Regions from separate parts of the Homo sapiens genome. Here region 2 is linked to region 1. The links are contacts of gene promoters, found by promoter capture Hi-C in human tissues and cell types (Jung and others, 2019). All regions are on one chromosome and are shown on one strand. Each heading gives the region's core, a stretch centred on a gene start or on the middle of the fragment in contact. The rest is flanking DNA. Distances are from core to core; before and after follow the strand shown.

The links. Contacts are between HindIII fragments. The study calls those that stand out against the background at their distance.
Region 2: a contact is called between a fragment that was not itself captured here and the fragment with the promoter of AGO2 in region 1, in 1 of the 25 tissues and cell types used here (lymphoblastoid cells).

What each region holds. Positions count from the first base shown.
Region 1 is chr8:140,632,634-140,637,591 of GRCh38, reverse strand. It overlaps AGO2 (argonaute RISC catalytic component 2), which reads left to right and starts at 1,959. Exons shown (of 19, transcript NM_012154.5): 1 at 1,959-2,107. The coding sequence starts at 2,086. It overlaps ERICD (E2F1-regulated inhibitor of cell death), which reads right to left and starts at 3,357. Exons shown (of 1, transcript NR_170171.1): 1 at 1-3,357. RefSeq lists silencers at 1,395-1,794, 2,445-2,614, 3,098-3,147 and enhancers at 2,954-3,720, 3,721-4,488. The HindIII fragment of the contact is 25,430 bases long and covers 1-3,541 here.
Region 2 is chr8:139,402,957-139,407,914 of GRCh38, reverse strand. No RefSeq gene overlaps it. Among named protein-coding and RNA genes, the nearest start is that of KCNK9, 300 kb to the left of the region's middle. RefSeq lists a silencer at 1,887-1,996 and an enhancer at 2,616-3,264. The HindIII fragment of the contact is 4,778 bases long and covers 1-4,729 here.

The sequences.
Region 1 (4,958 bases), core at 710-3,209:
AGAGATGGGGCAGGCAGCAATGGCACCCCTCCGCCAGCAGAGGGCCACGGTGTCCGCCATCCAAAGAGAAGTGACACAATGAAGCCCTCAGAGACATTATCTTGCCTTCTGGAACGAAATCCTTGCAACAAAGTTCCCCAACACAGCGCTCAAAGGAGCTGAAGGCGGGCTGAGGGCAGCCAGTGATGACAGAGCCTTCTGGGCCTTTGCTGAGGCGTGCAGTCGCTGACAGCAGGGCAGTTGGGCCTCAGGGATTTCGGGCCAAAACGAGTTTTGGGGATATGTGAAGGAGACAGGGGCAGAGAGAGAGGGTGGGCATCTGCGAACTGGGAAGATTGATGAGGTTGCATGGTTCATAAATAGGAAAGTGGTAACATTCATGATTATTTAAAAATTTCCGTGAAATACTACAGTAAAGGTACAGAAAAGCATATAAAGTAAAAGTGCAGTTTAAGGGATGGCTGCCAAAGGGCACCATTGCAGGAAGGAACAGGCCTGGCACCCCCAAATCCCCCAGGGGCCCTGCTGTGGTCACAGCCCTCTCACCCCCAGCTGTATCCACCATTCTGACACTTAGAGTAAGCACCTTCTTGCCCTTCTGTCAATTATTTACTACTTAATGATGCTTCCCTAAAGAATGCAGTTTAATTTTGCCTGTTTTGGAATTTTTGTGAATGGCTAGATTCCATCCTGTGAATATGAGCACACTGTTTCTCCATCCTGCTCTCCGTGGGTATTCAGTGCCATGCAGTCCAAGCGGTGATGAAGAATGCCATGCACACTCCTACCCAGGTTTCCTGGTGTTCATTACTACACATTTCAGGAGCACGTTTTGTATCGGCAACTTGGTGAAGACTGATGTCCTTTTGAGTTTTCGGAGGAAGTGCTGGTTCTCCTGCCCTTCTTCAGGGCTGTCCTCCGAGACTGCAGAGAACTAGTGACCACCCTGCTGGCTGCGGAGCTCCTGTCAGTCAGAACTCCTGTTTATTCTCCGCCCGGAACAGGGCCTTGCACCCATATGCAGACAGCCGATGCCACGGGGTGAAGGAATGCTCCGGGAAATCTGGGAAAAGGCGACCAGGCACTTTAGATTGTGGGTCAACCTCTGCCTTCTAATCCTCCATCACTTAGGGGAGAAAGGAGGTAGCCACAGGCTGGCTTTTCCAGGAAAGCCTCCGAAAACCAGACGGACCCAGAGGGACCGGACAGAAACGCTCGGAGGTGCACGACGGTCCGAGCAGGCCCCTGACTGCTGGAATGGGCGTGTCCGCTGATCTGATCCCTGATACCAGCTACAGTTTACTAAAAACTTCTTAGATTTTCTCAGTGCTTTAAACGGATTATCTGGGTTCTGGGGCCGCGCCGGGAGGTGGCGGTGTGGTCCTGCGCGAGCGGCCGGCCGCGTTCAAGTTCAAGCTCCGGGCTGGGAGGGAGCTTCCCGACCTCCGTGTTTCTGTAGTAACTTAAAGAGCCAGGCTGGGGGCCGAGGGGCTGAGGGTGGGAGGGTTCTGCGCCCCCCACCGGGGGGCGGCGGGGAAAGCGGGGGCGCGTGGCCTCCCCTCCGGCTCCGGCGGCACAGCCGGGGGGCCCGGCTCCTCCCCGTCGGGAAGACGCGGCTTCTCTGGGTGGCAGTGAAGGGTCCCCGGGGCCGCGCCCGCCCCCGCGCCACACGGGCCGCGCCGCCCTCGGCCCTCGTCCCCGCTCCCGCCCGCGGTTCCCACCGCCCGGCGAGGTCTCCGGGCCCCTCCCCGGGTCCCCGCCCCAGGCCCCGCCAGACCCGGCGCCGCCGCCGCCGCCGCCGCGGACCCCGCCCGCGCGCCCAGCCCCGCTCCCCCCGCGAGCGCGCTCCCGCCGCCGGCCTCGCCTCCCCTCCCCCTCCCTCCTCCTTCCTCCCCCGCCCCTCCCGCTCCCGCTCCCGCCGCCGCCTCCGCCCGCCGCCCCGGCCGCGTCGGGTAAACCTGTTTGGCGAGGCGGCCGCGCCGGGGCGGATCGTGCGGCCGGCGGCTCCCTCGCGGCTCGCGGCGTCGGGGCCCGTGGCGCGCGCGCGGCCGCCCCTCGGCCCCGGAGCCCCTCGGCGGCGCCACCATGTACTCGGGAGCCGGCCCCGGTGAGTCCTGGCGCTCGGGGCGCCCGCCCGGCCGTTCGCGCGCTCCTGCCCGTGGTTGGCGGGCCCGGCGCGGGCGGCAGGGGCCGGGGATCGGGGGGCCGCGGGGTCGGGGCGGCGGGGGCCGGGGGCGGGCGAGCCGGGGCCGCGCTTGGGGGCTCGAGGAGCGGCGGCGGCGGGGCCGAGCCGGCCGTTTTCTCGGCCCCGCGTTGGACGCGCAGCCCCGGCCTCCTCGGCCCCCGCGAGTCGTCGGGGCGCCCCGCGCGGCCTGGGCCCCTCCCGCGCCTCGGGCCCGCGTCCCAGCGTCCTCGCATCCCCCGCCCGGGGCCCGCGGGCTGGGGCCGGGGCCGAGGCGGCCGCCGCGTGTAGGCCCGAGGCCCGGAGCGCCCCGCTTGGCCCGGCCTCGCTGCCCGGGCGGGGATGGGGGCGCCGCAGCCCGGCCCGGCCTGACCCTGAGCGCCTGAGCGGGTGGAGGCCGGGTCGGGGCGCCCGGCTCGGGGCGCGCACGGGCGGGAGGGGAGGGGGCTGCGCCGGTCCCGACCCCAGCCGCGGTGAGTCTGTGGCGCGCTCCGTTGTGGCCCTTCTTGTTGCCGGCACTTCTTCGGCCCCTTTTCCCAAGGAAAGTCTGGAAATGCTGAATTTTGGCCAATTCCTGTAGTTAGGGCTGTCGCCTGGAAAGGGGAGGACGCGGCTCCCCGGAACCCTCAAACTGCGTGCGCGGCTCGTTCTCATTCCAGACACGCCGGCCTCCCCATTCAAGTGCTAATTCCTTTTACAATTTCCTAGGAGAGGTGAGGCGAGGTGGATTCCTGTAGCACCCCTTGTTGCTAGTCGGCCTTTCTCTGGAAAAGTTCTAAAAAACTTAAAGCGGTAACGCGTTGTTTTTCTTTTTAAATGCAGAGTAGAAGGCGGTCTCCTTGGTGGGCCAAAAAAACGGTCAGGTGTTCTCCTGCTTTTGGCGTGCTCCCACCGGGCACGTGGCTCCTGGCTCTCTCGGCCGGCCTGGCCGCTGGGACGGGGCACCGCCTGCTCCCCTTTGTCCGCTGGGCCCCAGCCGGGCCGCAGGCGGCGCAGGCCCCGCCGGGCTCTGGGCTTATGTTTACCCGGCCGGGCGAGGAGGCTCGCATTCCCGATGCTGCCCTCGTTGCTGCAGACCGGCCCCAAATTGTGGGGTCCGGAAGGCCCCCTGGCCCACCTTGGTCCGTTGATGGTGGCCCCCACTGCTGGAGCTGTTGGCTCTGTGCCTTGCGAATGTCGCGTCTTTTTTCTGATGTCATTTAGAAAGCTTCAACAAGGCGGAGTCTGACCAACTTTTCAACCCCTGAGGGCCATCAGCAGTTTGAAGAATGATTTTCCCCCTCCACCTGGGAGGGGCCGCAGTCCTGGAGCAGGTGCTGGCCTCTAGAGGCCTTGGGTGGCCAGGCCCCCTCTTGGGAAAGGACCGGGCATCCCCTTGTGAGTTGGGACCTTCCAGCTCCTCTTTGTAGAGGAACCCAGCTTATGGGACTGACAGCACTACATTTTTTCAGGTTATCGGTTTTAAAAGTTGGAGGCCCAGAAAAAGTGAAGAGGCTTTAAGGAAGGTCAAGCTTTCTGTGTTGTGTTTTGCGTGTTACTTAATTCACTCCACTTGCTGAGGTTGGTGGTGTTTGTGAAGACAGACAGCCGAGGCTCACAGAGGTTGAGAACTTCACCAAGGTCACACAGCAGTGAGTGAGTATCAGGACAATCGGTCCGACTTCCGAGCTGGTTCTCTGGGTGCCTTCCTCAGGGCAGTCCCTTTCAAGCCCTATAACCCAGACCCACAGTAAGAAGTCTCTGTTAGGGCTGGACTGGACCAGCACCTGCCCGCATACTTGTCATTGACAGCGGGGCTTCAGGAAGCCACCCCAGCTCACTGCTGTACTGTGTGCACTGCCCCGGGATGCTGTCTTGTCGATTTCATTTTTCAGCGTACCTTGGCCCTCATGATCCACAGGCTCGTTTCTGTCACTCGCTGCTTTTTGGAGATTGTTGCCTTGGTGTGGGCCTGGTAGGGAGTGGACCCTCTGGAACAGGACAGTGGTTGAAAGAATAAATGTGTCTGCAGGATAATTCATAGCTAATGGCAGGATGGGAATGAACCCAAGTTTCAGGTTGTACAAACGTGCTGTAATTATAAGTCTGTGGTGCAGTTCCATTTTATGCTACACATTAAGGCTTTTAATTTTGTGTAAAAGGAATTTTTGGAATAGTCTTCATTGAGACTCTTTTTAATCTTATACTTTCTAATTTAGAATTATAAGACATTCAATTTGAATTATAGAAAAATTACATTGGGAGGCCAAGGCGGGCGGATCACGAGGTCAAGAGATCGAGACCATCCTGGCCAACATCATGAAACCCCGTCTCTACTAAAAATACAAAAATTAGCTGGGCGTGGTGGTGCACGCCTGTAGTCCCAGCTACTCGGGAGGCTGAGGCAGGAGAATCGCTTGAACCCTTGAGGCAGAGGTTGCAGTGAGCCAAGATTGCGCCACTGCACTCCAGCCTGGGGACAGAGTGAGACTTGGAGACTCCATCTCAAGAAAAAAAAAAAAAAGAAAAGAAAAATTACAAATAGTTTTGCTACTTCCAATTGTAACACCCTTATTAGGCAACTTACTAATTTAAAAAGCAGTTCACAATAGCTCTACATTATACCAATCACAAACAAATGCTGTGACGTATGTGAATGCTATTTAGAATCTGAAGTTAGAAATGTTACTATTTTTTCGTTTTTTGAACTGAGTTAGTTGTTTAAGATGGGTGGATTCTCCAATGACCTTGAACCTTCACTGATGAACAAATTAGTTTTTTGGTTTTTTAACCATTT
Region 2 (4,958 bases), core at 1,091-3,590, 1.2 Mb after region 1:
CACCTTGGTCTCCCAAAGTGCTGGGATTACAGGCGTGAGCCACCGCACCTAGCCAGTTCTTGTATCTTTTCAGGAGTATTCTCTCTATATAAGCAACTATGTGGTTGCATATTTATATATGCTCACCTTTACTTACAAAATAAATCACGCTATATGAATCGTTTCTCACCTCAATGCTTTTCTAAATATTTTATTTATTCCATTACAATTTTCTACAACACTTAGCCAGGCAGAATAAACACACTCAATCACCCCAGGCTGCCTTGTTCTTGAGTAACATCTACTTTGCTCTTGGGACCACTTCAAATTCTGGCCTTTACCTCTTTCTTCAGTCCCTTCACTCCTTCTCATCCCCCATCTCTAGGTTACTCACCACCAGTCCTCCCTACATGCCATCACTAAATAATGATACCTAAGATAAAGCCTTCAGATATCTTAAAAGGGAGTCAGACTGCCTGGATTTGATGCCTGGGTCTACCGCTTCCTAGTGGGTAATCTTGGGCAACTCCTGTAATCTCTCTGCACCCAGACTCTCCTTGTTTTTAAAACAGGGATAACAATACACATCCCAAATTATTAAATGAGATAATATAGGTAAGTGCTTAGAAGACAGAGTTGACAAGTGGGACTTAAGCTGTAGTCTGATCTATCTATCTATCTATCTATCTATCTATCTATCTATCTATCTATCTATCATCTATCTATCTATCTATCATCATCTATCTATCATCTATCTATCAATCACATATCTCGATTTATCCATGTTTGTCCTTCTACACTGCCTACTTAATAAAACCTGTAGGCTGCCCACCTTACCACCCACATATGACTGTCTGCTGCCTCTCCAGCTTGAGCTCCTCGGCTCACTGTGGTTGGCCCTCTGCCCTCACTAGTGTTGTTCTAGAAAAGCTGTCCATTCCTTCCCCTCCCCAGACCCATCTTGCCTGACATCTGTGCTGCACTGGACTCTTTGCCAGCTACTTTCTCCTTGAAAACCCAGCTCTCCTGGCATCTGGGTTGTTGCTCTCCCCTGTTGTTCCTATACCTGCCTGGCCTCCTTTATATTCTCCACCAGGGGCTGCTCCTCTCATGCCTTAACACCCTTAAAATGTCAGCATCGCCTGCAATTTCTTCTTCAGTCCTTTTCCATTCTGAAGCTGTTTGGAGTGCATGCTTACTCTTTTGTCTGGTTATTTCCTGGGGGGACCTCATGCATCCCTCTTGGTATAGTTTCTTCCACTACACTGTTGATTCTCAGATCCCAATATCTCCATCCTCACTCAGGCAGGGGGCCCCAGACTTGTCTGCCTCCTGGGGTTCCTCCTCTCCCTGCAAACCTCCGCTTTCATGTCTGGTGTCCATGAATGGCCTTGCCATCCTCCTCTCCTTACATCCAATCTGTAACCACAGTCTCTTGATTAAATCTTTAAATATAATGAAAATAATCACTCTAACAAGGTTTAGTGAGTAGGCATTATTTATCAAGAATTGTGCTAAGCATTTTATATAGCTTATTCCTCTTAATTGGCATGGGAGCTCTGTAATGTGGACACTGTTACCTCCTCGCAATTTTTCAGGCCTGGATAGTGAGGTTAAGTAATTTGTTGCATGGCTGCAAAGAAATGGCACCCCCTAATAAGGCACCCTCTGCATTCCCATTGCCTGCATCCTCCCTGAAGACAGAACAAGCTTCCTAAAACACATCAAATGCATCACTTCCCAGGCTGAAAACCACTCAGGGGCTTCCCATCAGCTCTAGAGTAACACCCAGCTTCTTTGCATGACATACGTTCCTTGTGATCTGCGTCCTACCTACCTATTTACTGTCAGATTTTGCTAATGATGGTGGAGTCTTGGGCTCGCTTGCATTTCTGGCACCCAGCAATTCCTTCCCAGGTGGTGCTTGCTCCAGGCTCTTGCTCCAGCAACTCAGTACAGTAGGGTAACAGCACCTGAGAAGCTCTTTGCTGCCCCCTACTGGCACTCATAAACCACCGGTGAGAACCATGAAGGTGGATCTGTGAACGGTTGTTCGGCGGGACTCCCGTGACTTCAGACATGGTTTCTGTGGATTTTATACAGAGCTCCTGTTGTGAACGCTGTGTATCCACAGCATTAATGGCTCTTCATCATTAAAGGGTCAGCATGCAAGGGTGTATTTCACCAGCTGCCGGGAGGCGGGTGGCTAACAGTTCTCCACCCTTAGCCCCTTTTGGGACCGCCTCCGCTGAAGAGAGCTACCTGGCTGTGCGTCTTATCTCCCACCTTCCAGGGCGACTCAACCCAGTGGTTGCTCAAGGAGCTGTATAGAGCTCCGGCTCCCTCCTTTCAACTCAGGCCAATTCTGAAGGGTGGCCTCAGCTTCAGAGCTTCCATTAATCGCCACTGAGGCCTTGCCGTGACTTACAGCCTGACCTGCGTCCTATCCTCGCCCTAGGTGATGGCCCTGAGAACTCTCGCCGGTAAGTCTCCTCACCTGTTTCCACCTGAGCCCGCTTCTGCTTCCAGGAGCTGGACCTAAGCAGCCGCCTGGAGGCAACTGGCTGGTGCTCATCACTCCCCGACTGGAATCAGAGCCCCAGGGGTGGAGCCTCCAGAACTTGCATTTCTGGTCTGCATCTCTGAGTTCAGGAAGTTTTGCAGCAAGCTTAGAAAGGAGAAAGCATGGGCGCCCTGGAAGCCAGACCTGGGGCCCAATTCCAGTTCCACTATGGCCCGGTGACTCCAGGAAAGTCACTTAACCACCAATGCTTGCTTCTCATCTGAATATCGGGATTCCTTAAGATTTACCTCAGAAGACTGTTGTAAAGTTTGAATAAGATAAATCTTGCTAATCATATATGTTTAAAAGCTTAGCACTGTGCCACCCACAGAGCAAGTAGTCAGTGAGCGCCGGCCTTCTGCCCTCTTGACAGGTAGAGCTGTTGGTGAATAACCAGTGTGATCTGAGCATTGTAAAGTGCTGCACAACAAAACCCTCTCATCCCATAAGACCTGAACTCAGACTGCTTACAATTCTTTTATTTGGCTCAGGGCATTGTCTTCCACCCTTGTTAACATGCACATGCCCTCTGGGCAAGTTCAATTGTCACTCAAGAAGTTCCTAAATCTGCTGAGTCTTGGCACTATAGCCACAGCCTGTTCTCCAGCTGTCAGTTCTCCACTGTCAGTTCTCCACCTTTTCTCCACTATAGCCACAGTGAGTCTCTCTCCAGGGAGTTGAGATCAAAACGCACCGAATGGTTGGGGTGGAGGGGGGCTATGAACTCTCCAGGGTGTGGGCCTGGGGAAAGCTAAGGGACAGGAGGTGAGACAAATACATGCCTGCAGCCAGAGTTCTGCACCTGCTCTGTTGCTCCTGGGTCCTGTTCCTGCAAACACCTGGCTGCTACTTTTTAAACATCTTCCCGTTCCATTTCTCCCCGGCTCCCTGGACACTGACCAAGTCACTTCCGGGAGACTCTGTGGTCCAGATTAAATTCTGAGAAAATGACTTCAGTATGTAGAGTATCATCATCCCCTTGGAAAAAGAAGTTGGCAAAGGAATGCCGGGCTGCCTCCCACTGCTCGGTGATCTGTGCCTGGTCTCATTTTCCATCCCGAGATGATGTCTCCACCCCTCCCTGAGGTCCCAGCTGACCAGCCCTTCCCCCACCTGACAGTGTAACTGATCCTCCTGTGCGGAATGCCCAACCTGGAGGTGCTGACCCTCCTGTGAGGGATGCCCAACCTGGAGTTGCTGCTCTCTCTTCTGCCCACATCACTCTGCTTCTGCACTGGGATAAAGATGCAGAACATGGTGGGCTTTCTTCACAGTGCTGGCCCACGTCATTAGTCCTCCCTGACCCCAGTAGAAGAAATATTCATTTGTTTTTTTTGAGACAGAGTCTTGCTCTGACACCCAGGCTGGAGTTGCAGTGGCGTTATCTTGGCTCACTGCACTGTAACCTCTGCCTTCCAGGTTCAAACAATTCTCATGCCTCAGCCTCCTGAGTAGCAAGGACCACAGGCACATGCCACAATTCTTGGTTATTTTTTTTTTTATTATTTTTAGTAGAGATGGGGTTTCACTATGTTGGCCAGACTGGTCTTGAACTCCTGACCTCAAGTGATCCACCTGCCTCGGCCTCCCAAAGTGCTGTGCTGGGATTACAGGCGTGAGCGACTGCACTTGGCCTTGAAGGAATAATCTTGAGCTTGTTTCCTGACACTCTGAAATTCTGGGCCAGACAATAGGGGAAGGACACCTTGCACCTTCTCTTTAAGTCTTAAACTTGCCTTCTGAGTTCGTCCCTCAGCAGTGGTCCCAGCCTTCCTTGATCTGGATACTGGAGACTCTTCACTCTCTAGAAGCAAGGACTTCTCCAGCATGCATGGTCCCTGCACTGGAGGCCTAAGGGATACCCTTGGAACAGCAGCGCTGTAGAAACACATGAAGACCACCCAGAGGAGAGCAAGCAGAGGCCGCACATCCAAAGCTTGCGAGAGTGAGAGAGGCGGCCACTATCACTTGCATTTGGCAAGCAGGGGAGTGGGAACCCTTGGTCGTGGGAAAAGGAGAAGGCTGCAGGTGTGCTCCTGCTGGAGGCTGTGGGTGTGAGGGAGAAGGAGGCCACTGAGCAGGAGCGGGGCATCCTGTGTGATTGGTTTGGGGACCATATTTGGCTTTGTCTGGTCAGTCCTGAGTTGGAAATGGGGGCAAAAATTAGAGGATCTGGTGGTCCTGACAGTTTAGGGATGGTTGCTTCAGAGGTTGTGGCTTGGCTTCCCAGGGGGGTTGCTGCAGAGGTTGCCAGTCAGAGTTCTGTTGTGTGGGGTCTGGCCACTGTCCATTCATATATTCAGTTTCCCAATTCTCACGCTTGACCGCATGCTGTATTAATCTGAGATCTCAAACATGCTATGTCCAGGGTTGATGCCTGGGTCCCAGCTACCAAGATTCTGATTTAATTGTCTGG